Linked DNA regions of Homo sapiens: regions 1, 2, 4, 5 and 6 are each linked to region 3. The links are contacts of gene promoters, found by promoter capture Hi-C in blood cells and fetal thymus (Javierre and others, 2016). All regions are on one chromosome and are shown on one strand. Each heading gives the region's core, a stretch centred on a gene start or on the middle of the fragment in contact. The rest is flanking DNA. Distances are from core to core; before and after follow the strand shown. Region 1 overlaps KIF2C (kinesin family member 2C). Region 2 overlaps RNF220 (ring finger protein 220). Region 3 holds the start of MUTYH (mutY DNA glycosylase). Region 4 overlaps KIF2C (kinesin family member 2C). Region 5 overlaps ARMH1 (armadillo like helical domain containing 1). Region 6 overlaps ARMH1 (armadillo like helical domain containing 1).

The links. Contacts are between HindIII fragments. The CHiCAGO score rates a contact against its expected background, and 5 or more counts as called.
Region 1: a fragment that was not itself captured here is called in contact with the fragment with the promoter of MUTYH in region 3 in 1 of 17 cell types (naive CD8 T cells); the score reaches 5.0 in naive CD8 T cells.
Region 2: a fragment that was not itself captured here is called in contact with the fragment with the promoter of MUTYH in region 3 in 1 of 17 cell types (naive CD4 T cells); the score reaches 5.8 in naive CD4 T cells.
Region 4: a fragment that was not itself captured here is called in contact with the fragment with the promoter of MUTYH in region 3 in 1 of 17 cell types (naive CD4 T cells); the score reaches 6.0 in naive CD4 T cells.
Region 5: a fragment that was not itself captured here is called in contact with the fragment with the promoter of MUTYH in region 3 in 1 of 17 cell types (total CD4 T cells); the score reaches 5.2 in total CD4 T cells.
Region 6: a contact is called between a fragment that was not itself captured here and the fragment with the promoter of MUTYH in region 3, in 2 of 17 cell types (fetal thymus and naive CD8 T cells). The highest score is 5.5, in fetal thymus.

The regions. Positions count from the first base shown.
Region 1 is chr1:44,766,908-44,771,611 of GRCh38, reverse strand. It overlaps KIF2C (kinesin family member 2C), which reads right to left. Exons shown (of 21, transcript NM_006845.4): 20 at 4,663-4,704; 21 at 3,845-4,515. The coding sequence ends at 4,433. Among named protein-coding and RNA genes, the nearest start is that of RPS8, 6.3 kb to the left of the region's middle. The HindIII fragment of the contact is 6,266 bases long and covers 1-4,704 here.
Region 2 is chr1:44,629,166-44,633,323 of GRCh38, reverse strand. It overlaps RNF220 (ring finger protein 220), which reads right to left. Exons shown (of 15, transcript NM_018150.4): 6 at 939-981. Among named protein-coding and RNA genes, the nearest start is that of SNORD145, 40 kb to the left of the region's middle. RefSeq lists enhancers at 11-558, 628-717, 1,328-1,417, 1,108-1,655, 1,748-1,847 and a silencer at 988-1,297. The HindIII fragment of the contact is 3,724 bases long and covers 1-3,568 here.
Region 3 is chr1:45,337,897-45,342,482 of GRCh38, reverse strand. MUTYH (mutY DNA glycosylase) reads left to right here and starts at 2,513. Exons shown (of 16, transcript NM_001048174.2): 1 at 2,513-2,584. TOE1 (target of EGR1, exonuclease) reads right to left here and starts at 2,313. Exons shown (of 8, transcript NM_025077.4): 1 at 2,179-2,313; 2 at 1,268-1,410; 3 at 1,140-1,180; 4 at 914-1,010; 5 at 376-534; 6 at 1-99. The coding sequence starts at 2,230. RefSeq lists enhancers at 988-1,654, 1,953-2,302, 1,655-2,323, 2,324-2,991. The HindIII fragment of the contact is 741 bases long and covers 2,092-2,832 here.
Region 4 is chr1:44,745,958-44,750,566 of GRCh38, reverse strand. It overlaps KIF2C (kinesin family member 2C), which reads right to left. Exons shown (of 21, transcript NM_006845.4): 3 at 3,082-3,183; 4 at 2,867-2,915; 5 at 3-125. Among named protein-coding and RNA genes, the nearest start is that of KIF2C, 8.4 kb to the right of the region's middle. The HindIII fragment of the contact is 179 bases long and covers 2,155-2,333 here.
Region 5 is chr1:44,696,366-44,700,952 of GRCh38, reverse strand. It overlaps ARMH1 (armadillo like helical domain containing 1), which reads right to left. Exons shown (of 12, transcript NM_001145636.2): 3 at 3,783-3,851; 4 at 2,724-2,890; 5 at 1-30. The region is part of intron 4 of LOC105378690 (a long non-coding RNA gene); the gene reads left to right. Among named protein-coding and RNA genes, the nearest start is that of RNU5F-1, 23 kb to the left of the region's middle. The HindIII fragment of the contact is 1,210 bases long and covers 2,616-3,825 here.
Region 6 is chr1:44,724,719-44,729,104 of GRCh38, reverse strand. ARMH1 (armadillo like helical domain containing 1) reads right to left here. Exons shown (of 12, transcript NM_001145636.2): 10 at 4,266-4,343; 11 at 3,888-3,969; 12 at 3,514-3,814. The coding sequence ends at 3,702. It also overlaps a transcript of LOC105378690 not described here. Among named protein-coding and RNA genes, the nearest start is that of RNU5D-1, 4.3 kb to the left of the region's middle. The HindIII fragment of the contact is 2,190 bases long and covers 546-2,735 here.

The sequences.
Region 1 (4,704 bases), core at 590-3,089, 570 kb after region 3:
TACTAAAAATAACAAAATTAACCAGGCGTGGTGGCACACGCCTGTAATCCCAGCAACTCAGGAGGCTGAGGCAGGAGAATCGCTTGAACCCAGGAGGCAGAGGTTGCAGTGAGCTGAGATCGCACCATTGCACTCCAGCCTGGGCAACAAGAGCGAAACTCCATACCCACCCCGCAAAAAAACAAAGGAATGTTGTCATTTCAAGGCCAGATAGAGAAAGATAGCTGGCAAAGGACACAGAAAGAGAAATTAGAGTGACTAGAGGAAAGCCAACACAGGGTGCTGCCGTAGCTTAATGCTGCTGTGAATGCTAGTTAAAATGAGACTAAAAAGTGATTATTAGGCCAGTGCGGTGGCTCACGCCTGTAATCCAGCACTTGGGGATGCCAAGGGGGTGGATCACCTGAGGTTAGAAGTTCGAGACCAGCCTGGCCAACATGGCGAAACCCCATCTCTACTAAAAATACAAAAATTACCTGGGTGCAGTGGTGGACACCTATAGTCCCAGCTACTCTGGAGGCTGAGGCAGGAGAATCGCTTGAACCTGGGGGGCAGAGGTTGCAGTGAGCCGAGATCACTCCACTGCACTCTAGCCTGGACGACAGGAGCAAAACTCCGTCTCAAAGAAAAAAAAAAAGGTGATTATTGGATTTAGTAACCCGAAAGTCCTTGGTGATATTGGCGAGAGCAGTTTCTGTACAGTACAGTGGGAAAAAACTTGAAATAGAATGGGAAGTTAAAAAATCCAATGTATGTAGACAATTATTTTGAGAGGTATGACTTTAAAGGGGAAAGAGAGAATTAGGTTGTTGGCTGGAAAGGAATGTAGAGCAGAAGGGTAGTGTTTTCTTTTTTTTTTTTTGAGACGGAGTCTCACTCTGTTGCCCAGGCTGCAGTGGTGCGATCTTGCCTCACTGCAAGCTCTGCCTCCCGGGTTCATGCCGTTCTCCTGCCTCAGCCTCCTGAGTAGCTGGGACTACAGGTGCCCAAAACCACGCCTGGCTAATTTTTTGTATTTTTAGTAGAGATGGGGTTTCACCGTGTTAGCCAAGATGGTCTCGATCTCCTGACCTCATGATCAGCCTGCCTCGGCCTCCCAAAGTGCTGGGATTTCAGGCTTGAGCCACCACGCCCGGCCTTTTTTTTTTTTTAATTTTAGACACAGGGTCTCATTATACTGCTCAGGCCACAGTTCTGAGTCTGCTTTCTAAAGCAGCAACACTCTCTCATCTTTCTCTACCCACTTACTACCTATCATTTGTTTACATGCACATTATCTGTCTTCTCCACTGAAATACTATGTGCATAAGGGTAGAAACTTAGTCTTATTCACTGCCATATTTCTAACACCTATACATAGAATAATGCTTGCTATTTAATAAGTACTCAATAATTTTATTTTTTTTGGAGACAGAATCTTGCTCTGTCGCCCAGGCTGGAGTGCAGTGGCACAATCTCAGCTCACTGCAAGCTCTGCCTCCCGGGTTCACACCACTCTCCTGCCTCAGTCTCCTGAGTAGCTGGGACTACAGGCGCCTGCCACCACTCCTGGCTAATTTTTTTTTTTTTTTTTTTGTATTTTTAGTAGAGACGGGGTTTTACCATGTTAGCCAGGATGGTCTTGATCTCCTGACCTTGTGATCTGCCCGCCTCGGCCTCCCAAAGTGCTGGGATTACAGGTGTGACCAACCGTGCCCAGCCTTTTTCTTTTTTTTTTTTTGATACAGGGACTGGTTCTGTTGCCCAGGCTGGAGTGCAATGGCGCAATCTCGGCTCATTGTAACCTCTGCCTCCCAGGCATAAGCCATCCTCCCACCTTACCCTACCAAGGAACTGGGACCACAGGCACATGCCACCACGCCTGGCTCCTTTTTGTATTTTCTGTAGAGATTGGGTCTTTTTTTTTTTTTTTTTTTTGAGACAGAGCCTTGCTCTGTTGCCCAGGCTGGAGTGCAGTGGTGCGACCTCAGCTCACTGCAGCCTCTGCCTCCTGGGTTCAAGCGGTTCTTCTGCCTCAGCCTCCCGAGTAGCTGGGATTATAAGCATGCGCCACCACGCCCAGCTCATTTTTGTAGAGACAGGGTTTCACCAGGTTGGCCAGGCTGGTCTCCAATCTGGCCTCGTTTTCCGCCCATCTTGGCCTCCCAAAGTGCTGGGATTATAGGTGTGAGCCACAGCACTCAGCTCATTTTTGTAGAGACAGGGTTTCACCAGGTTGGCCAGGCTGGTCTCCAACTCTGGCCTTGTTTTCTGCCCATCTTGGCCTCCCAAAGTGCTGGGGTTATAGGCATGAGCCACAGCACCCAGCTGAGACTGAGTCTCATTTTGTTGCCCAGGATGGTCTTGAACTCCTGAGCTCAAGCCATCTGCCCGCCTCGGCCTCACTCAATAAATATTTAAATGGCACTAAATATTCGAGCAAATTATTGTTCTACTCACCACATTGTATTTGCTTGGTTTTCCCAGGTTTAATGTACCATATTAATGGAGTAAAGGAGTAAAGGAAGAAACAAATGGAGTAAAGGAAGAAACAAAACCACCTGATCACTTCAAAACACAGAAAAAGCATTTGACAAAATCCAATACCCTTTGGCGATTAAAAGACTCAAACTAGAAATAAAAGTGAACTGCTGGCATAGTGCAGTGGCTCATGCCTGTAATCCCAGCACTTTGGGAGGCCGAGGTAGGAGGATTGCTTGAGGCCAGGAGTCTCTGTGACTGAGGGCTTCCCACACATTTGCTTGTATGGTTCCTAGGTTAAACCTTTTAGTGGCACCTCATTACCATTCAGATAATCCATGCTCAATGACATGGAATATAGAGTTCTCCAGTTCCTAAACTGTTCATGCCCTATGACTGGGCCCTCAGTCCACTGGACAGACTTTTTTTCAAGACCAAATTGGTGTTTCCCTTTGGATCCTTCCCTGTCCAGCAAGTTAAGTGCTTTCATCAGCCTTTGTGTGAATGGTAATGAGGTATCACTAAAAGGTTTTAAGCAAATGTGTGTTCAGGGAGCCCTCAGTCAGGGGGACTCCTGGCCTCAACCCCACAGAATCTTTTAACAGGCCCTGGGCTGACTGTAATAGGGTGCCATCTTCTTTTTTTTTTAACACGGAGTTTCGCTCTTGTTGCCTAGGCTGGAGTGCAATGGCGCGATCTTCGCTCACCGCAACCTCCGCCTCCTAGGATTACAGGCATGCGCCACCACGGCCGGCTAATTTTTTGGATTTTTAGTAGAGACGGGGTTTCACCATGTTGGTCTCCAATTCCTGACCTCAGGTGATCCACCTGCCTCGGCCTCCCAAAGTGCTGGGATTACAGGTGTTAGCCACTACACCTGGCCTTTTTTTTTGAGACAGCCTTACTCTGTCTCCCAGGCTGGAGTGCTGTGGCACAGTCTCGGCTCACTGCCGCCTCCGCCTCCCGGGTTCAAGCAATTCTCCTGCCTCAGCCTCCTGAGTAGCTAGAACTATAGGTGCGTGCCACCATGTACCATGCCCAGCTAATTTTTGTATTTTTAGTAGAGATGGGGTTTCACCATGTTGGCCAGGCTGGTCTTGAATTCCTGACCTTGCGATCTGCCCGCCTTGGCCTTCCAAAGTGCTGGGATTATAGGCGTGGGCCACCGTGCCCGGCGGCCATCTTCCTTCTACTTAAGAGTTTCTGTTCCCAGGCCTAGTAAGCATCTCATAGACATCAAACAAGTCACAGGAGTCTTCAGCTTGTCATTGGAATTGTAGGTGTGGATATGGCCTCCTGGAAGGAGTACAGAATCAGTACTACCCAGAGGCCAAAGGTACAGTCATGTCCTTAGTCCCAAAAGGCTCAGACACATCCCAGGCCCTTTCCACACACTTAAACAGCTGATTTATTTTTTCTCTTTATTGTTACATACAATGTATAAACACATAAAACAGAAAACAGTAGGGATCCTCTAGGATCTCTAGGGAGACAGTAAAGTAGAAAGAGGTCTCAGAAACATTTTTTTAAAGTACAAGACATTCAGTGCTCGGCCCAAAGGCGTAGAAGGTTTAGAGCCAGCAGATAGCTGTACTAAAGGCTCCGTCTCTCTCCCCAGAGCCAGGACAACCCCAGGGAGCTCTCCATTAGCAGCCAGTCCACGCAGGCAGGATGCTGCGGAGAAAGCTCTATGCTGAGAACATTCCCCTTGATGGAAAGAAGGGCAACACAAAAGGGTAACTAAGAGCTCCTTCCTCTCGTGAGGGCGACAACTGAGGAACAGAAAAGGAGTGTCCCATGTCACTCTGACCCCCTCCCCAGCTGCCCTGGGCCCAGATGCCCCCATACTTGGCATTTACCAGAACCTGTCCCAGCTCAGACCCTGCCTAGACCCACCAGGTACCCAAAGTTCTCTGGGGAGGGCCAGGGAAGAGGCTGGGTGTCAAACCAAACAGATTTTTATTTGCAGTCGTCACTGGGGCCGTTTCTTGCTGCTTATTTGTCTGCTAGCCTGCTCTTCCAGCTGCATGGCCAGGCGCAAGGCCTTGATGACATCTGGAAGAAAGGGTAGCGGTACATATGGGGTTAGTGAGAGTCTGAGGAGCCCCCATTCACTCAGGGCAGAGCTGCCATCACCTGCAGCTGCCCAAGAGCCAGCAGAGGCCACCATCGTCCACCTGCACCCCATCCAGCCACACCCACCTCGCAGGGCTGAGAAATGCTTGGCTTGCTGGGCCAGAGCAG
Region 2 (4,158 bases), core at 457-2,956, 710 kb after region 3:
CCCAGCTGTGTACTTTTAAACAAACCACTTTCACCTCTCAGAGCCTGTTTTCTTATTCACAAAAGGTGTGTAATACTCTTCTCAGAGGCGTTGTGAGAATGGTGCTTAACATGGCGCCAGCCCATCATGAATTTCTCCCTTTTCCAGACTAGGGCTCAGCCTGGCAGCAGAAACCAAGTGATAAGAGCTGGGGATCTTGAACTCCATGGCCTCTCTCACTTACCAGCTGACCCAGAGACCCTAAACCCCTTACAGCCACCCCCCAGATACCACACCCCAGTAAGCACAAAAAGCTAGGATCATTCAATTGTATTCAGCAAACAGGAATGCTCCAGAGGTTTGAATCCAAAAGGGGGGCTGCTAGGTAGTGCATACACGGCCTGCTTTCAGAGAAGGCCTCTAAGAGCTGTCGAGCCCACGCTGATCACCTTTGTGAAATGTGGGCCGACTGATAACTCAAAGAGCCCTGGGATGAGTTAGTTCCTGTTGCCGTGGGAACTCCAGATCTCACTGTATTGTCAAGTCTCAGCAGAGGGGCTGTATTCACACTACTGGGCACTGATTAAAAACTGGAAGAAAAACATTCTCAGCGCCCTGCAGGTTTGTATAGTGAGGTCCCAGCAGTTTGCAAATTCAAAGCTGAGCTCCCGAGTAGAATTGTGTAGCTCGTTCCTCATTCTCCGGCACTTATTGCCCCCCCAGGGTTCTTCAGGGCCTTTAGAGAGGTTTGGGCAAGAGCTGGGCGCCATACCTCCATTAGACAGACGGGGAAACTGAGAGCGGCAGCTTTGGTTTGCACATACTCAGGCGCCGTGACTGCGAAGAAGCCAACGGGCCCCAGAGTCGAAGAGACCCAGGCAAGCCAGGAGCGGCAGGCAGTGAGGGAGGGAGGGAGGAGGCCGGGGGTGGGGCGGAGGGAGGGGCCGGGCAGGACTCACCATTCAGTCGGGTCTGCCGGTTGGCTCGTACTCGCAGAAAGGTCTGGGAGAAGATCGCGGGCAGATGCAAGAAAAGAAAAGAGAGCGTCAGGCGCGGCCTGCAGTCCTGGCCCCCGCCCCAGCACCGGACCCCCGACCAAAGCTGCTCCGCCCCAAACAGCCCGTAAACAAACCTACTTCCTCCCTCCCGCCGGCCCCTCTGCTCCTCCGGCCGCTCCGGGCTCTCGGCATAGCCGCCGGGCGCTGCTCTAACGGGACCCCGTGGCCGCTGCGCGGTGCCGCCCCAGCCCTGGCCTCCGGCGCTCTGGGCCCCACGGCCGCCCGGCCGGCGAGGGCGGCGATGCGGGCGGATTCCCCGTGGCTGCCCGGCGGCGGCGGCACTTCAGCTCCAAGCGGCGGCGGCGGCCATGTTGGCCCTAATCACGTGATCTGCCGCCGTCGCGCGCTGGGGGTGAAAGTTCACAATGCGGCGGGGGCGGCCGGACAGAGACCAGGAAGCTGCCGTTTGTACTCGGGTAGCAACCGGCAGAAGCCTCCCCGGGGTCCCTCCCACCGCCCGTGAAGCCTACCCACCCAATCTTTAGCGGCTGCGAAGTCCTTCCACCCCACTCCACGACCCCTCCCGCTGCGGGGCTCCTTCCGCCCCATCGCCCGGCCCCGGCTCCCGCCTCCTGTGCCTGCCTTTCTCGCGGCTGCCCTTAGGGCAGAGGCATCGCGTTGGGTGCTTTACAGGGGACAAGGCGTCCGAATTCCCTATCGCCTGTGGGCGATCCCCGCCCAACCCCTAGGCCATCCAGTTCTGTTATCAGAGGACTCCCAACATGTCAGCTGTCTGCTGCACGGCCCCTGGAGCTCCCATAGGCACTGCATACCCACACGGCCAACATGGCCAACATGGAACTCAGTATCCTCCAAACAGAGGCCTTCCTCTTGGGTTCCCTGTTCATAAGAGGAAGCCACTATCTACTCAGGTGTGCCCACAGAAGAAAGTTGAGAGTCGTCCTGGACCCCACTTTCTCCATCCCTCACACTCAATCCTTTTCTAGATCCTGAAAGTGTACATTGAAAGGTCGCTAATTTTCTCATCTCCACCTCTGTATCTCCTACTCATCCTTCCAGGTCTAACTGAAAAATAGCTTTGCCTTGTGTAAGAGTACATTCATCTCTGCGCCGTTATCATCGCTTGTGAAGTTTTTATCAGTGGACTGACCACTTCAGGGTTGGGGCCGTGTGTGAATTATTTGGGTGAACCCAGAGCCCAGCATGGCACTGGGCAAAGGCAAGTCAGCCCTGAGTTGTTCTTCCATGGTTGTACCTACCTTGGTTGTCGTTGTGCTCCAGTCATACATAATCTTACGAGCTCTCGAAATTTGCAGCTGTTCCCGTCTCATCTTTTGGTCTCTAGCTTCTCTCTCTGCAACCCATCCTCCACACTACACACAATGTGATCTTTCTATTGGACAAAATTAACCCTCTCCTTCTTTAAATCCTTCAGTGGTTCTCCATCAAGGCATATAGGCCTTCCCTGTCTGCCTTGCCAGACTCTTCTCTCACTCCTATTCTCTCCCTTTACATTCCTGACACTCAGCTTTGCAGAGCTAACTAGCTCTTTGAGCACTCCATGCTCTGCACTCCAGGCCAGAGAGCCTCCATGCCCTCCAGTATCCCTTGCTTGGTTAACTGTTGTTCATCCTTCAGGACTCTGGCAAGACTTAGTTTTGTCCCCCAAGCCTGGGTTTGATGCCTCCTCTGAGTTTTCAGTTCCACTGCTTCTCTTTGATCATGTATATTTTGATTGTTTGTTTACATATCTGTCCCTTGTACTTGGAAGGTCATCTCTAGCCATTTACCCAGCACAGCGTCTTGCATGAAGGAGACACCAGTGGGAACGGGAGAAAGACTTTATGAGATAAGCCCTGAGCCCAGTGATGGGTTGGGAAACAATCTCGGATTTAGGGCCAGACAGACTCAAGTTCAAGTCCTAATTCTGTTACTTACAATTTATGTGTTCTTAGAAGAGTCACCTCTTTCTAGGCCTGTTTCCTTGGTAATAGACTGGGCATGATGAATACAGTTGCTATGAGGTTTAAGTGAGGTAATGATAAAGAGGGTTAGTTAGTCAGCAGGGGCTAAGTAAATGAGAATTCAAACCAGAAACCAAGGCTCATGCCTTTAATCTTAGCACTTTGGAAAGCCAATGCAGGAGGATTGCTTGAGCCCAGGAGTTCAAGACCAGCCTGGGCAATATAGTGAGACCCTGTCTCTATGAAAAACAAAAACAAAACCCCAGAAACCAATACCCCCTGGTTTCAAGGCCTAGCTCAGTGACTTTAAAAATCCGACATAGCTGAACAACTACTACATGCCAGGCCTTGTGTAAAGAGCAAGGGATGGGATACCCAGCTAGTCTCTGGGTTGCTTTCCAGCTTCACCTACTAACTTTCCTTGCATTCTACTTTCTAACAAAAGCAAACTGCTAGCAGGTCCCCAGATACATCATTCTGTTACACCTCTATGTTCTCTACATAGTGTTGTCTTTATATCTGGAGTAACCTTTCTTCCTTGTCTGCCAAGTGAACTTCTGTTCCTTCTCTGAGTCCGTTTTCAGTCATTACCTCCTGTGTGAAGCTTACTCTGATTTTCTCCTCCTTCTACTGTAGTATCCTAGAAACGTATTCTTTATTATTAATTTTTTTTATTTTATATTTTTAGTAGAGACAGGGTTTTGCCATGTTGCCCAGGCTGGTCTTGAACTCCTGGCCTCAAGCAGTCCACTTGCGTTGGCCTCCCAAAGTGCTGAGATTACAGGCATGAGCCACTGTGCCTGGCCCCTAGAAACTTATTTATACTCCTGTCATAGCACTCAAGACACTGGACCATAATTGTCTATCTGCAAATCTAACCCCTTGAAGGCAAGGACACTAAGCTGAACATGAGTCAGTACTAAATAAATGTTTGAGTAAAGGAAGGATAAGACAAGGTCCTTGCCTTGGAGAAACTCCAAGTCTAGTGGAGTCAGATTCATTGTGAAAGATTAAATATGGCCAGAATTATTTGCATCTTCTCCTATCAAGAGCTGCCTTTCCTCATCACTCGATTATGGGCTAGCTTTGTGACTTGCTTTGCTTAATAGAAAGTGGTGGAAGTGATGTGTGAGTTCCAGATTCTAGGCCTCAACAGGCCTTGCGGCTTTGGCATTTACCCTCTTGGTGTGACACTG
Region 3 (4,586 bases), core at 1,264-3,763:
CACCAAGTCTATAAGGCCATTGTGTAGCACCAGGGGCCGGCGGGCTCGGATTAGCTCCAGGAATAGGGTCCGTACTGACTGGCTCTGGCTCTCATCACCCTAGATGAAAGTAAAGGGGTCAATGAGGAGGACAGAGTCCCCCAGGGAGCCTCTTCTGCTGGGCACTTATCCCAGACTTCCCCACTTGGAACGCTCTCTCTCTACCTTACCCAATGCTGCCCACCCTCCTCATACCAGTCTTGTTTCCCAAGCCCTGTCACTAGTGATTCCCCATACTCCCTAAGAAGCAGATTCTCCCCAGACATCCAGCCTAGGGTAGGAAGAAATAAAGTCACAGAAAGGGCAGACTCAAGGCTAGGGAGGCTAGAGGCCTACCTTGTCATTGCCCTTATGGTAGGGGATGCCTTGGGCATACTGCTGGTTGAAGTTGAAGCCATGCTGTATCAGGAACTGCACAGACTTTGGTTCTATGACATACTCCTCCATGCACAGCAGAGTGAGATTGAACACTTGAGCCAGATAGGAATGTTCACCCTGGGAGAAAGAGAAGTCTGCTATATCAAGATTTCAGAGAGCCAAGCTAGGAGGATGCAAAAGCTTAAGAATGATACAATGGACTCTGGGGACTCAGGGGGGAAAGGATGGAGGCAGGTGAGGGATAAAAGACTACGCATTGGGCACAGTGTACACTGGGTGATAGGTGCACCAAAATCTCAGAAATTGCCACTAAAGAACTTACTCATTTAACCAAACACCACCTGTTCCCCATAAACCTATTCAAATAAAAAAAAAAAAACTATCAAGTCAAAAAAAAAGATTTGGGAGAGAAATGCTTCCTATCTGATGTTCCCTAGAATCTCTCTACCCTCCACCCCACAGCCACACCTAGGATTGGGGTGAGATCAGCTCATACCTTGTCTGGCTGCCGCTTGAAGCAGGCGAGGCCCAGGGAAAGGATAGAACGGGTCCTGGCAGCATGACACACGGCCTTGTAACGTTCCTCAATGCACCTTGGGGTTGGGTATGGGGGTTGCTGTGGCTAGGAGTTAGCCTTATGAAGGACCCAAACCACCCAGGTCTGTGACCCCCCCACTCCACAGTTGAGGGCTGGCACTAAAGAGAAAAGGGCTTATACTTACTGGTTCAGCAAACTCTTCCTGTCCCCAAGCCCACTCAGCTCCTGTGGGTAGGTAAAGGGAGAGTTGTGACAGGCCTCTAGCACCAGCCCCTTCACAACCACCTGCCCTCCTTGTTTCCCAACTCTCACCGTGTCCACAGCCACGAAATTAGCTGTCTTTATGGCTAGCAGGAGGGATGGCCACATCTCCTTGAAGTTGTTGCTTTGCACATCCACTACGGGAACCTGGACTACTAGCTCCTCCCCAGATGTTGTGCTTTTGCTGACACCACCTGGGGGTTAGGAGGGTGATGGATGTTCATGCTTAAGGAAAGAGCCCAGGGGAACAGACACCAAGCTAGGCCACGGTGATGGTGGTAAGGGGGGTAGTTTCCATTGGTAGCTTTTCCCACAAGCCTTTGTAACCCACGTGTTCTACACACAGGCCTTGGAGTGGAGAATGCCCTGAATTTGGGGAGAGGAAGCCTGAGTCTTCTACTGGCTTGTATGAGCCTGGGTAAATTACTTCCCACCTCGCTTTCACAATCTGTAGAGGAGAAAGTTGGACTAGACGACCTTTGATTCTTTTTTCCCATGTCCTGCAGGAAACATTTTGTAGGGCTTGAGGATCTCAGCTCCCTTAATATCCCACAGGGATCCATACTACTGTTCTCATGGTGCCCCAGCGCCACAAGCAACAGCTCCCAGTAAGCCCCAGAGCCTGGCAGTGCCCCACACCAGAGCTCCCAATACGTCCTACCTTCCTTTGGATCACAACGCTCAATCCACTCCACTGAACTGAATCACAACTATTACTACTAACCGTTATGAGCTCCAGACTACATCTCCCGCCATGCCTCCATCAGCCCCATGCTCCCAACGCTCCAGGCTTTTGCAGCCGGAGCCGCGGTGTACAACGGAACTTGTAGTCTCCTCGTGGCTAGTTCAGGCGGAAGGAGCAGTCCTCTGAAGCTTGAGGAGCCTCTAGAACTATGAGCCCGAGGCCTTCCCCTCTCCCAGAGCGCAGAGGCTTTGAAGGCTACCTCTGGGAAGCCGCTCACCGTCGGAAGCTGCGGGAGCTGAAACTGCGCCATCGTCACTGTCGGCGGCCATGACACCGCTCGTCTCCCGCCTGAGTCGTCTGTGGGTACGCTGGACTTGCGGTCCGTCTCCTGGCGCGGTTCAGGCAGTCGGGGATGGGGCGGGGTCTCGCCGTCGGGTCGCCGATGGGTCGAACTTCCGTTCAGACGTCCCGGGTCCGGCGCGGGGAAGGCAGCCTGGCGCGCGCTAATTGCCTATTGGCCTGTGCTGCCGGCTCGCAGCCCGGGTGGACCCGAGCCACGCCCCCTGGAGTGCGCCGGAAAGCCGGGCGCGCTAGAGCTCGCGGGAGGTAATCTTTCTCTCCTGCTCTCGCGGCGGGAACGCGGGGCCTCCGTGTTCTGCTGTCTTCATCAGCGTGGGCCGCGGGTAGCGGGTAGTGGGGTGGCTGGGTTTGGGCTTTCCAGAGAAGGTGACGCTGCCTGAGCTGAGCTTAAAGCACGCCCAGGAGTTAGACTAGGAGAGGGTCGTGTGGGGGAAAGAAGGGCGTTCTGGGCATCGGTAAATTCCCAGAGAGGATGGAGAGCTCAGTGATCTCCAGAAAGTGAAAGAGGCGGGGAGTGGGCCATCGGAGGAGGCTGCCCAGGGTGTAAGAGCGACCGATTGGTAGGGAAGCTTTTGTAATAATCCAATCAAGTGATAATGTGAACTTGAATTAAGGCTGGCAGTATGGATGGCGAGGAAGGGACAAATTGTGAAGCAGCTAGGCGGTATAGTCGACCTAGAGGGTGATTGAATTTGAAAGAGGTTCCTAGGCCGGGCGCGGTGGCTCACGCCTGTAATCCCAGCACTTTGGGAGGCCGAGGCGGGCGGATTACCTGAGGTCCGGAGTTCAAAACCAGCCTGGCCAACATGGTGAAACCCCGTCTCTACTAAAAGTACAAAAAAAATTAGCTGGGTATGGTGCGGGCGCCTGTAATCCCACTACTTGGGAGGCTGAGGCAGGAGAATCGCTTGAACCTGGGAGGCAGAGGTTGCGGTGAGCCGAGATCACGCCATTTTGCACTTCAGCCTAGGCAACAAGAGCGAAACTCCGTCTCAAAAAAAAAAAAAAAAAAAAAATTCCTATTGGAGACTAGTCCCTCCGTAAACACTACGATTCCCATCCACCTCTGCCTTCCAGTGCTCCTTTGTTACTCATTGTTTATAGTTAATCTTCAGCTTCTCTCAACTGAGCCCATTTCATCATTATTCAGAACTGCTTGGGCCGGGCGCAGTGGCTTATGGCCTGTAATCATCTTAGGAGGCCAAGGTGGGAGGATCGCTTGACCCTAGGAGTTCAAGACTAGCCTGGGCAACATAGTGAAACCTTGTCTCTACAAAAAGAAAATTAAAAATTAGTTGGGCATGGTGGTGCGCACCTGTAGTCCCAGCTACAGGAGGCTGAGGTGAGAGGATGGCTTGAGCCCAGGAGGTCGAGGCTGCAGTGAGCCATGTTCTTATTGCACTCCAGCCTGAGTGGCAGAGCAGCAAAGTGAGGGACACACTGTCTCTAAAAACAAAACAAACAAACAAAAAAAAAACAAAAATAAAAAAACTCTTTGGATTTCTCCTATCCTAAAAAAGGGAAACTCTTTTGACTATCCCCCATCCCATTAATTCATTTAACAGGTATCTATTGTGTACAGTTTACCTGGCACTGACTTTGGACACACACCAATCAACAAGAGAATCAGTCCTTGCACTCAAGTCGTTTTTTACAGTCAAATTCAGGAAGTACACACTGATGGAAAGAATCAAAGTAATGTAAAATTACATTAGGTAAGAGCTACAAGGCAGAAATATGTGATAGGATAAGATGAGGGGACCTGATTTGGACATTTCAGTCAAGACTTGAAAAATGATAAGGTGTTAGGTAAAAGCATAAAAGAGTCCAAACAGAGGAAATGGATTGTGTGAGGCCCCAAGGTGGGCAGACACACTTGAGGTGTTTAAGCAACTAAATTCAGTCAACCTTGGCTAGAGCATAGTGAGGGGATGAGGCGGATGGTGCCCGGATCACTGGACCTGCAAGGCTGTAGTAAGAGGACTGCCTTCTAAGAGCAAGGGTGTGGCAGCCAAATCCCTCCAATGGCCTATAAGGTACTTTGTGACCCTCCTCTCCCCACCTCATCTGGTTTACTTCTCTGACCTCTTCTACCACTCAGTCCCATCTCATTCCATTCTAACCACATTGACCTACTTACTGTACCACAGACATACCAGGCACCCTCCTTGGGGCCTTTGCACTCACTTAGAATGCTTTGGGTCTACCTTGACCACAGTCTTTAAAATTGCAACATTAAACCCCACCTTGGCACTCTTTTTTTTCCCCTCTTGGTCTAATTTTTGCTTTTTATGCTAATATTTATCACCTAACATCTTATGGAAT
Region 4 (4,609 bases), core at 995-3,494, 590 kb after region 3:
ACGAGGAACTGAAAACTGCTTGCGGGAGTTTGCAGCTGCAGGCAGCTCCACCTCCATGTCATTCTCCTGAGCCGTGATGCGAAGCTCTGAGACAGTGGACATGCGAGTGGAGCGGCTTCGAAGACCTGGAGAACCGAGAGCAGTAGCCAGTCAGTGCTGCACGATCTCGAGGGTGGTCAGGGGCAAACCTCCAAGTTTCTGTACAAGGTGAAATAGGTCCCAGCTACCAGGAAAGGGGCTCGCCAACTTCCCATATTCCTTAGAAAGGAAAAATTAGAAAGACCAAGTACCAGTAACCCCAAAACCTCTTTGTCCACATTGTGCAAATCTAGGAGCTCCTGAGGGCAAGGATATCTCCCACAAAGAGCGGCTGTCTTGAGTAAGTACAGGAACCTATAGCTATCCTGAAAACATTTCTGGAGAGAGAGAGACCTAATCTAAGTCCTTGAGAAAAAGTATTATGAATCTTTTTTTTTTTTTTTTTTTTGAGGAGTTTCGCTCTTGTTGCCCAGGCTGGTGTGCAGTGGCGCGATCTCGGCTCACTGCAACCTCCACCTCCTGGGTTCAAGCAATTCTCCTGCCTCAGCCTCCCAAGTAGCTGGAACTACAGGTGTGCACCACCAGACCCAGCTAATTTTTGTATTTTTTTTTTAGTACAGACGGGGTTTCACCATGTTGGCCAGCATGGTCTCAATCTCTTGACCTTGTGATCCACCCGCCTCGGCCTCCCAAAGTGCTGGGATTACAGGTGTGAACCACCGTGCCCAGCCCATCTTTTTTGAGAGACAGAGTCTCACACTGCCACCCAGGCTGGAGTGCAGTGGCATGATCTTGGCTCACTGCAACCTCTGCCAAAACCAACTTCTACCCAGTTTCTGAGTATTATAAGTTCAGGCTGATGGCTATATATAATCCATGTTTTGAATTTTTACAATCGTCCTATTTCCCTAATGATTTTATTTTATTTTTTATTTTTATAATAAGACTGAGTCTTGCTATATTGCCCAGGCTGGTCTCAAACTCCTAGGTTCAAGCCATCTTCCTGCCTCAACATCCCAAAGCACTGGGCTTACAGGTGTGAGCCATCACATCTAGCCCCAAATGATCTGTAATTTTTTTTCTTTGTTTTTTTGAGACCGAGTCTCACTCTGTCACCCAGGCTGGAGTACAGTGGCATGATCTCGGCTCACTGCAACCTCTGCCCCCCCGGGCTCAAACGATTCTCCTGCCTCAGCTTCCTGAGTAGCTGGGATTACAGGCACCCACCACCACGCCTGGCTAATTTTTGTATTTTTAGTAGAGACAGGGGTTTCACCATGTTGGCCAGGCTAGTCTTGAACTCCTGACCTCAGGTGATCCACCCGCCTTGGCCTCCTAAAATGCTGGGATTACAGGTGTGAGCCACCACACCCGGCCAGTTTTTTGTATTTTGAATAGAGACAGGGTTTCACCATGTTGACCAGGCTGGCTTGGAACTCCTGACCTCAGGTGATCTGCCCACCTTGGCCCCTCAAAGTGCTGGGATTACAGGCATGAGCTACTGCTCAGGGCCTTAAAGATTTTTTTTTCCATTAAAATGAGCTGTGTAGCTGGGCATGGTGGTGTGTGCCTGTAGTCCCAGCACTTTGGGAGGCTGAGGCAGGAGGACTGCTTGAAGCTAGGAGTTCAAGACCAGCTTAGGCAACAAAGCGAGACTCCATCCTAAAGAAAAAAAGCTATTGGCTGGGCATGGTGGCTCGCGCCTGCAATCCTAGCACTTTAGGAGGCTGAAGCAGGAGGATCACTTGAGGCCAGGAGTTTGAGACCAGCCCAGGCAACATAGTGAGACCTTGTCTCTACAAAAAAAAAAAAAAAAAAAATTAGCCAGGTGTGATGGGGCACACCTGTAGTCCCAGCTACATGGGAGGCTGAGGTGGGAGGATTGCCTGAGCCCAAGAGTTCAAGGCTACAGTGAGCTACGATCATATCATGGTATTCCAGCATGGACAACCAAGTGAGACCCTGCCTTTGAAAAACAAAACAAAACAAAGCTGGGGCAATATCCTTTGAGGACATGAACACGGAATGGGACTGCTGCGAGTCCCAACTCTCCTGCATGACCTTACGGTACACCCAGCAAGAAAGGGCCAGCACCACAATAGTCAGGCCCAAGCTTGCAATGGCACCACCTTCCACTCAGGGCCCCCAGAACCTGAAGCTCCAGCCAAGTATTCTGTGAGTCCCTGAGGTAGCTGAATCATTTCAGGGCAATGATGACCCCTAGACCTGGAGAGCTGTGCAGGTCACCAGCCTTCAAGGTACAACTGGCTTTAAGCTGGATCTTTTGGGAAGCTTACCCCCTAGAGTCACAGTCTATCATGTTGTCAAAGTAGGTTTTCACAGACTACTTCTGCAGAGAGACTCCCAACCTCCTAGACCACGAGGCAATGCTGTTATTCTCTCCAGCCCCAGCCATCCCTCTCTATAGCGCCACCAACTGTACTTCTAAACAACCCACAGGCCTAGTGTCTCCCATTTTCAAAATCTCTTTCCAAGGCATACTGTTCCACTGAGGGGGCTGAGCCCCGAGGGAAGAAAAAAGGCCTACCAATGGCTGATTCCTACTCTCCTCAGCATCAGGCTCTGGATTCTACAGAAAAGGTTTCTAGGCCAGGCAGCAAATTTCCTAAATGCACCAGGTCTCTTAAAGGTTGGCCTGATAGCTGTAGATTGGATTCTTTCTCATAGAGAAAGATGCTTGGAACACAGGCAGGACTCAACCCACATAGAAACCACCTGCAAAAGAGGAGCTTCCACAACTCTGAGTCCTAGAAACATAATTCCTGACACAAATTCCATGATAGTAAGCTAGTAGAAATCCACTTACTTTCTTTTGGAGCAGGAATTTTGGAGTTGACGGATCTCCGTTTTTGTTTCTGAAAAACAAATCAAATTGTCACAATATATGGCTCTTATCAATTCTCAAGGGCCCATCCTGGGCCCATGTACTATGCTAAAATGCCAGACAATCAATCAGCAAAGAGTCAATAAGCAAAGTGAATTCTCTGGCGCACTGGCTGCAGCCAGATGACAGGCACCTACCTGGATTGTTACATTTTCCTGCAAGGGCAGATTGTCCTTCGGATGTAAGGGAAGAAGCTGTAAGAGTTCTGGGTTTATTGCAGCCACATCATCAAAATCAATCTGCAAGGAGCAAGTAAAAGTTTCAATGAAACAACATTGTTCAATCCAAATACATTTTTTCTTTTTTTTTTTTTTTGAGACAGAGTATCGCTCTGTCGCCCAGGCTGGAGGGCAGTGGTGCGATCTTGGTTCAATGCAACCTCTGCCTCCTGGGTCCAAGCAATTCTCCTGCCTCAGCCTCCTGAGTAGCTGGGACTACAGGCATGCGCCACCACGCCCAGCTAATTTTTGTATTTCCAGTAGAGACAGGGTTTCACCATGTTGGCCAGGATGGTCTCAAACTCCTGGCCTCAGGTGATCTCCCCACCTCGGCCTCCTAAAGTGCTGGGATTACAGGTGTGAGCCACTGTGCCTGGCCCCCCCGAGGCTGAGGCGGGAGAATTGCTGGAATCCAGGAGGCGGAGGTTGCATTGAGCTGAGATTGAGCCACTGCCCTCCAGCCTGGGCAACAGAGCAAGACTCTGTCTCAAAAAACAAAAAACAAACAAACAAACAAAAAAACAACATAGAAAAAATTAAATTTCTATAGACAGGGGTACCCCTAAATTCAAACTTTACCAACTTTAAGTTCCACTAAGTATGAATAGCTATAAAACAAATAGTTACTCCTTAATAATGGTTTACCATCTAGATGGATATGGGTTTCTGATTTCCAAGCCAATGGTAGACGTCAGTGATGAGAATGAGGTGAAGAGGAGGGCAGACAGGCAGGCAAACAGTCGGGTACTCCACAGCAGATCTAGGCCACTTGGCTCCCCTGCTGATCTGCTGGGCAGTGAGGTCCTGCTGGGCACAGCCCCCCAAGCACCTCTTGATGGCTGACACGGAGGAGGAAACAAGTTCTAACTGTCTGGTGAGAGTCAAATGGGGGCCCTTTAGGATCTTATGGGCAGGGGCAAGTTCCTGACAGCTGCTACCTAACCCTAAGACTACCTACATTTTCTTCTGGGCCCAGAAACTTCCCCAGTTACGGCTTCCTGCCCATGCCTTACCTATTTCCTGTTGATGCCTGCAATGAGGTCACAATTCTAAGTTTACATCATCAGAGTCCTGCAATTCTCCAGGAACAACTCAAACTTCACCAGGATAGCTTTACAACAGGTTCAGACATATTAAATTTGTCCCAACTTTGTATTTCAAAATGTGACAGAGCTGAAGCATGTACTCTAGGGTGAGGGCTTTACTGCCTAGAGATGAAACCTGCAGGACTGGGTGCGGTGGCTCACGCCTGTAACCCCAGCACTTTGGGAGGCCGAGGTGGGCGGATTACCTGACCTCAGGAGTTCAAGGCCAGCCTGGGCAACACGGTGAAACCCCTGTCTCTACTAAAATACAAAAAGTTGGCTGGGTGTGGCAGCGTGCACCTGTAATCCCAGCTACTCAGGAGCCTGAGGCAGGAGAATGGCGTGAACCCAGGAGGCGGAGC
Region 5 (4,587 bases), core at 1,971-4,470, 640 kb after region 3:
TTGCCAAAAATTCTGCTATGGATCGTACACCTGAGCAAAGAAGAGAGGAAATGCTAAATTGGAAGGGATTTATGAAAAAATCCCCACTCAAGATTATATAATATGAATAGGATTAAAAGCTCTTCAACCAAGCCTGTTCAACCAAAGCAAAATTGAGGCCTGGTTCTCATGTTGCATCACTGTCTTGTTTACCTTAGAGTTATGTGGCTGGAGGATTTTATTTCAGCATAGGCATGTCAAAATCTGTTTTAAAGTTTAAAATGGCTCTGCACAATTTACAAATAAAACATGCATTTTTTTATTGCTATATGATAACTCTTTTTTTTTTTTTTTTTTTGAGATGGAGTCTCTGTCTGTTGCCCAGGCTGGAGTACAGTGGTGCGATCTCGGCTCACTGCAACCTCTGCCTCCCAGGTTCAAGCGATTCTCTTGCCTCAGCCTCCCAGGTAGCTGGGACTACAGGTGTGTGCCACCAGGCCTGGCTAATTTTTGTATTTTTAATAGAGACAGGGTTTCACAGTGTTAGCCAGGATGGTCTTTATCTCCTGACCTCGTGATGCGCCCACCTTGGCCTCCCGAAGTGTTGGGATTAGAGGCGTGAGCCACGGCGCCCGGCCATGATAACACTTGTATAGCACTCAGCAGTTTGCAAAATGGTTTTACAAATACTAATTCACTTAATCCCAGAAACCATACCAAGAGGAAGGTGTTTCTCCCGCTTTATGGATGAAGACACTGAGGCTTCGAGAGGCCATGGGGTAGACAGGCAGGAGAACCTTGATGAGAATGCAGGGTGGGAAGTGCTTTGAAAAAGGGAGATGTTCGTCAGGCGTTGTGGCTCACGCCTGTAATCCCAGCACTATGGGAGGCCAAGGCAGGTGGATGGCTTGAGTTCAGGAGTTCGAGACCAGCCTGGCCAACATGGTGAAACCCTGTCTGTATTAAAAATACAAAAATTAGCTGGGTCTGGTGGCACGCGCCTGTAGTCCCAGTTACTGGGGAGGCTGAGGCAGGAGAATCGCTTGAACCCGGGAGGTGGAGGTTGTAGTGAGCTGAGACCGTGCCACTGCACTCCAGCCTGGGCTACAGAACGAGACTCCAACTCAAAAAAAAAAAAAAATAGAAAAAGAAAAGGAAAAAGGGAGATGTGGGGGATGGCATCTCTTTTACATGCCTCACTTCATGGACTATATTAAAATTATTGAGGGTGCGGTGACTCATGCCTGTAATTCCAGTACTTTGGGAGGCCGAGGTGGGTGGATCGCTTGAGCTCATGAGTTTGAGACCAGCCATGGCTAACATGGCGAAACCCCGTCTCTACTAAAAATAACAAAAATTAGCCAGGCATGGTGGCGCATGCCTGTAATTCCAGCTACTTGGGAGGCTAAGGCATGAGAATTGCTTGAACCTAGGAGGCAGAGGTTGCAGTGAGCTGATATTGCGCCACCACACTCCAGCCTGGGCGATAGAGTGAGACTCCGTCTCAAAAAAGAAAAAAATAAAAACTATATTATTTACTTTTCTCACCAGACTCTAAACTGTCTGAGGACAGGGATTATATTGTATTCATTTTTGTATCCCTAGCACCTGGCATATACCTAGCACACAGTAGGTATTCAATAATTTTATTTCAAATTTATTTTATTTCCTTTTTTTTTTTTTTTTTTTTGAGACGGAGTCTTGCTCTGTAGCCCAGGCTAGAGTGCAGTGGCGCGATCTCGGCTCACTGCAATGTCCACCTCCCGGGTTCAAGCGATTCTCCCACCTCAGCCTCCCAAGTAGCTGCCATTACAGGTGCGTGCCACCATGCGTTTGAATTTTTTTTTGTATTTTCAGTAGAGACGGGGTTTCACCGTGTTAGCCAGGATGGTCTTGATCTCCTGACCTCGTGATCCGACTGCCTCTGCCTCCCAAAGTGCTGGGATTACAGGCGTGAGCCACCGCGCCTGGCCTAATTTTTGTATTTTTAGTAGAGAGGGGGTTTTGCCATGTTGGCCAGGCTGGTCTCAAATTCTGACCTCAGGTGATCCACTCGCCTTGGCCTCCCAAAGTGCTGGGATTACAGGTGTGAACCACTGCGTCTGGCCTTCAATTTTATTTCTTGAGTTATTCATAATTCAATTTCTTTTTTTTTTTTTTGAGATGGAGTTTCACTTTTGTTGCCCAGGCTGGAGTGCAATGGTGTGATCTCAACTCACCACAACCTCTGCCTCCTGTGTTCAAGCGATTCTCCTGCCTTAGCATCCCAAGTAGCTGGGATTACAGGCCCCGACCACTGCACCAGGCTAATTTTTTTGTATTTTTAGTAGAGACGGGGTTTCTCCATGTTGGTCAGGCTGGTCTCAAACTCCTGACCTCAGGTGATCTTCCTGCCTTGGCCTCCCAAAATGCTGGGATTACAGGTGTGAGCCACCGCGCCCGGCCTCATAACTCAATTTCACAAAAGATATTGGGCCACAGCTCAACAAATCTTTGAATGGATGCCTGAAAGAGGATATATTTAAAAAGGAGAAGTATTTCTAAAACCACTACTGAAAAATGTGAGCAAATGATGAATCAGGAGAATCATAAATCTGGGTCTTCCAGTGGTGACATGGACAGGAGCACAAAAAGCTTCCTGTTCAACCAGTTTCATGATGTGTTTTTCCTATAGCAGTGGTGGGTTCTGCCACCATGTCATTCAGGCCCCTAGGGAGACACATCTTGTCACACACAGTACCCACCATAGCTTTCACAAATGAGTTCCTTGTATGTCCTGCCAGAGTTCGCAATAACCTGAAGTAGTTTGACAGATTCCTTCTTGGCCTCCTCCTTGATCTTCTCTAGCCCAAGTATTTCCAAGAGGGTTAGGACACCTCCAACCTCAAGAAATTCTATAAGGTACCGATTACTGTCCAGAGGGATAGAAAAGTAGAAATAAAACTCTTGTCAAGTTCCTTTGCACTGAGCTTTCAAAGAGATCCCAAGGTCCCCTCTTTACATACTTTGCCCTCCTATCCAGGAAATGTCCATAGGTAAAGTGATACGAGTGTGGAAATTCTTCCTTCCAGCAGGAAAGACTGGAATTACATACTAGGGACAGTTCTTGGTTTTGCCATTCCAGCATCTCTTCTTCTTCTTGTAATACCACCTCAACTGTCACTTGGGGAATCACCCCTCTGCCACTCATGGGCCATGTAGTTTTGGTGGGGTGAGGAGGTGACAGGGTATGTCACCCTTCTGACTGCAGAAGTTCGTTTGGGGCTGGGCATGGGACCTAAATTGGTCCAATGAGGCTCAAAGCCTGGGACTTTCTTGGGAAGCTGTGGAAAGGATCTGCTCTGTTTTTGGTATGTCTAGAGCTCCTGAGGACCATGGCATACAGAGGTCTATGAACACAGAGGAGAAGAGACAGAAATGGGGGAAAAGACAGAGAAGGAGGCCAAGTACTGATGACATTGTTTGAGCCCTGGATCTAGTTAGGGCTGAAATATGTATTTCTACCCTCTGGGTTTTTCCAGTTAAGTGAGCCACTAATTTTCCTTTTTCTGAGTCCAATATGAGTTGGTTTTCTGTAATTCACAACCGAGAGGGTGCTGACTAGTGAAGCGCCACTGGAGAGAAAGGGATGGGGGAGCAACTAGAGCAGGAGCCCGGTGGACATTACCTCTGGGCCCATCCCAAGAGCTACAAGGAACCCACTGCTAACAGGAATCCGTGGCCCTGGGTGGTGTGAATGCCAAAGACATCATGAGCCTGAGATGCCACTGAGACCCCCAGAATCACGCTAGAACAGAACTCACCTGCTTACAGCTGATAAGAAGATGCCAATGGACCTGAGAAGCTTTTCTAAACATGAGTCAGTCATATAGCTGTATGACACGTTAAAGAGTGAGTTTCAGGGTGGTTTTTCACACAGAAGCCAGAGCCCGTGCCTGATCTCTGGTACCACCCCGGGCCCAGGGTGGCCAAGTAGCTGAACTGTGCCTCTTTACCCTGAGAGGAGCTACCAGCGGAAGGGGAAGTGGCAGTACACACAGGGTTGGGGGAAGAGGGTGCTGGCTGTTCACTGTTCTCCAGGAAGCTCCTCTGTGGCAGTTCAGCCACCTTGGCTCTTACAGGCTTTCTAGGGAACAAGGAGGCTCTGATGAATTAAGGGTCCCTGGAGAAGGCTGGGGGTCAATATCCCAAAGCTCTCTAAGCCATGCCCATTGCATCCTTGGTGTCAGCATAGTTCATGACTTTGTGCCTCATTCTTAGATTTCCCTAAAAAGAACCAGCTTCATCATTAATTCTCAATTTTTGTACTTGTTCAAAGTTTTACACTGGAGGTCACTATCCTTATGAAGAATTGGCTTCCTAATAAGAATAATAGGAGATGGTGGAAAAATTAAACTCTGATTTAAAACAACCTCAGTATTTAATGTTATTTTTTAATGTGAGTCTTTGCAAAAAGCCTCATTATAATAAAGTACCCAAAGCACGCATCAGCTCAGATACAAGGTATGAAATCAAGCCACAACAGAAAAGGAACCAGTCAACAATTACTAGGCTCATAACACATCAGAGGCTCTTAGAACACTTAAGAAATTAGCTGAAATTACTGCA
Region 6 (4,386 bases), core at 391-2,890, 610 kb after region 3:
GAACAGTCAGTACAATAGCGTTGAGACAAGAGCTTGTTTGCCAATTTCTTTTTTTCTTTTTCTTTTTTTGAGACGGCGTCTTGCTCTGTCGCCCAGGCTGGATGGAGTGCAGTGGCGCGATCTCGGCTCACTGCAAGCTCCGCCTCCCGGGTTCACGCCATTCTCCTACCTCAGCCTCCTGAGTAGCTGGGACTACAGGTGCCCGCCACCACGCCCGGCTAAGTTTTTGTATTTTTAGTAGAGATGGGGTTTCACTGTGTTAGCCAGGATGGTCTCCATCTCTTGACCTCGTGATCTGCCCACCTTGGCCTCCCAAAGTTCTGGGATTACAGGCGTGAGCTACCGCGCCCGGCCTCTTTGCCAATTAAAAAAAAAAAAAAAAAAAAAAGAACCAGCAAGGGAGTCCAGTGTGTCTGGAGCAGAGTGAAGGACAGACAGAGGCAGAAGAGTTTAGAGAGGTGATGGGAAACCTGAGCACCTAGGGTCTTCATTCAGCGAAATGGGGAGCCCTCCAAGGTTTGAGCCCAGTGATAGAATCTGAAGCTTAAAAGGATAACCCTGGCTGTCGTATTAAAAAGAGAACAGGTATTGACTGGGCACAGTGGTTCACGCCTGTGATCCCAGTACTTTGGGAGGCTGAAGTGAGTGGATAATTTGAGGTCAGGAGTTTGAGACCAGCTTGGCCAACATGGTGAACTCCTGTTTCTACTAAAAATACAAAAATTGGCTAGGCGTGGTGGCAGAAGCCTGTAATCCTAGCTACTCGGGAGGCTGAGGCAGGAGAATTGCTTGAGCCCAGGAGGTGGTGGGTGCCAGTGAGCCTAGATCACACCACTGCACTCCAGCCTGGGTGACAGAGTGACATTTCATCTCAAAAAAAAAGAAACTAAAAGAAAAGAGAACAGGAAGAGGGAGAAAAGCAGAATAACGTTGAAGAGAGATGATAGTGGCTCAGCCCAGAGTATTAACAATAGAGGTAGTGAGATATGGTTGGATTCTGGATGTATTTGGAAGATAGAGCCAACAGACATAATAGATATGGGTGCTAAAGACGGACATTAAAAAGCACTCCACTATTTTGTTTTGTTTTATAGGAAGGATGAGTTGCCATGAGTTGAATTGGGGAAAGTGGCACGGGATTAGGAGTTCAGTTTTAGACACGATGAGGTGGAAATGTTTAGCTGGAAATAGAAATGTAGGAGTCATTGGCCTATAATGATATTTAAAGTTCTGAGACAGGATGAAATCAGCAGGGTGTAAAAGCAGATAGAAGAGAGACTCCAGACCAGGAGCCCTGCCTCACTCCAACTTGAATGAGACTGGATTGAAGAGGAGAAATCTTCAAAAGAAAAAACAACACCATGCACACTCAGGCCAGGCACAGTGGCTCATGCCTACAATCCCAGCACTTTGGGAGGCCAAGGCAGGAGGATCACTTGAGCCCAGGAGTTGGAGACCAGCCTGGACAACATAGTGAGACCTCATCTCTACAAAAAAAGAAAAAAATATTAGCTGAATGTGGTCGTGGTGCACATCTGTAGTCCCAGCTACTCCGGAGGCTGAGGCATGAGAATTGCTTGAGCCTGGGAAGCAGAGGTTGCAGTGAGTCGAGATTGCACCCCTGCACTCCAGCCTGAGCAACAGAGACCCTGTCTAAAAAAAAAAAAAAAAAAAAAAGCTGGGTGTGGTGGCTCACGCCTGTAATCCCAGCACTTTGGGAGGCTGAGGCGGGCAGATCATGAGGTCAGGAGTTCGAGACCAGCCTGGCTAAGATGGTGAAACCCCATCTCTACTAAAAATACAAAAGTTAGCTGGGTTTGGTAGTGCATGCCTGTAGCCCCAGCTACTCAGGAGGCTGAGGTTGCAGTGAGCCGAGATTGTGCCACTGCATTCCAGCCTGGTGACACAGCGAGACTCCGTCTCAAAAAAAAAAAAAAAAAAAAAAAAAGACTATGCACACTCCAGCCCCTCCTGGAAGAACCTACCTTTTTCCAGAAATCCTCAACCCAGTCTCCACCTACCTGCCCTAAGTTCCCTTGAGACTCCCTTTTTACCAGGCCCCTCCCCCTGGGAGAAGGTGCTTTGAGCATGAGCTCCCCTTCCTCCATTCCTATGATGTAAGGTTTTCTTCTTGGTCACTTTGCAAGCTGGGGACCTCTGGCCAGCAATGCCCTGCCAGGTCTCACTCGCCAGGCTACCTGCTGCAGGAGATGGCCTTTACTTGCTGCAGGAGACGACCCACCCGCTCAGTCCAGTTGGCGGAGTCTAGCTTATGCACTGGTTCCCGAGTTCTCGTCCCACGAGCCCAAGAAGAATGAGGATGCACTGGCAATTGAAGAGTGAGCAAGGTGGGGTTTTACTGAGTGATAAAACAGCTTTCGGTGGCTGTGGGGGGTGGTCCCCCTACCTGAAAGTGGGAAAGTCCCCCTAATATGGCTGAGTCCAGGGCTTCTATGGGCTCAGAATGGGGGAAGGGCAGGCCATAGGTAGTATTGGAAAAGGCAACATTCAATTGGTTAAAAGGCATTATTCAGAAAGAATCAATCAGGAAAGGGCAGGCAAACAGAAACAGAAGTTCTCACTCTGGGTTGTGGGTTTCATCCAGGACCAGCAGTCGGTCTTTCAGCCTTCAGGCTGTTTTTGGTTTGAAGGTGGGGTTCACTGGGGACCCACCCCTATCTGCCTAGGCATTTGGCTGCCTCCTGTTGCTATCTCCTAGATCAATGAATAAAGCTTCTGCTCTGCTTTATGGAACCTGGCCTTGTTCTATTGGTGCAAATGGTTCCAGGCAAGGAAAGGACCCATTAGGATCAAACGACCCCCTTTAATGTCTGTAACAACCGGAGAAAAACCAGGTAGGTAGGGTGTTCTGGAGGAAAGGGTGCATAGGCCATCAGGGAGTGGAGGTGAGGCCCTCTATTCAGGCTATGCCCTTGAACCTTCTAGGGTGTTGGTGGCCCTTCCCTCTGGATCTGCTTTTTTTTTTTTTTTTTTTTTTTGAGAATGAGTCTCACTCTGTCGCCCAGGAGGCTGGAGTGCAGTAGTGTGATCTTGGCTCACTGCAGCCTCTACCTCCCGGGTTGAAGTGATTCTCCTGCCTCAGCCTCCCAAGTAGCTGGGATTACAAGTGTGTGCCACCACACCCGGCTAATTTTTTATTTTTTATTTATTTTTTAGTAGAGACGGAGTTTGACCCTGTTGGCCAGGCTGGTCTCGAACTCCTGACCTCAGGCGATCCGCCCACCTCAGCCTCCCAAACTGCCAGGATTACAGGCGTGAGCCACCGTGCCCGGCCTGTTTTTGTGATGGGGTCTTGCTTTGTTGTCCATGATGGCTTCCAACTCTTGGGCTCAAGAGATCTTCTTCCTTCAGCCTGCAGAGTAGCTAGGATTACAGGTGCAAGCCACCGTCCTAAACTTGGACCTGCTTTTTAACTTGAGGAGCACAGGCACCACAATCTAGCATCATAGCTCTCACTTGACCTCCCTTCCCCCTCCACACACACAAAGAACAGACAGGTATCAAGGCTGTTTATTGACTCTTCGCAGCCAGCGGCTCTTCCTCTGCCCCTCTGGGATGCCTAATCCCCGTCTCCCCCCTGGAGCCAAGTGGAGTGGCTCTGAGCTTGACCCCAGGCGCCTTCCTCTTGCCAGGCTTCCCTGCCCCGCAGCCTTGGCCTTCCTGGTTTGCCACAGGGGCTGTTACTCCTTTGATTCTACATCCTCCTCGAAGTGTGTGAGGTAGGCCATCTGAGCCGAATCGCGCGAGCCATAGAGAGTGTTCATGCTGTAGGAGCTGCCATGGAGGCACAGGGCTGCAGGCAGGAAAGGCGGGCGTGAGGCTGTGCTGGCGGCGCCTGCGCCCGGCTTCCCTCGTCCCACACTCACCTTTGGTAACATTGACTGTGTTGGCCGCCAAGATGTCCGCCTGAATGCTGTCTATTTTCATGTACAAGTCCTCAGCGTTGCTCTGAGGACAGGAGCAAGGGGGACCCGGCTGGGGTGCCAGGGCAGTCTGGACTTGGAGTTGGGCTTGGCAGAGGGATGTTGCAGGTGGGGGGCGGGTCGGCAGCCTGACCGAAAGGGCAGGAAAGGGAACAGGAAGGTGGCGGGTGGAGGAGCCTACGCCAGAGCAGTCCCTCCTGCAGCTGGTGGCCAGGTCCACTCTGCATGTGGCGCGCTCCAGGATGGGGACTGTCTGAAGGGGCATCACACTGTCCGAGCCGCCATCTGCTCATTGCGGCGGGGCAGGAAGGGCGCACTTACCAGGAAGAGCTGGTAGAGTTCCTCCCCCATGCACTTGCGCACGTGCTCCGCCACCAAGGGGAACATCTGCACGAAGCACTGCGCCGCGCGGGCGAGGCGGCGTGACTGCGGGGGCGACGGG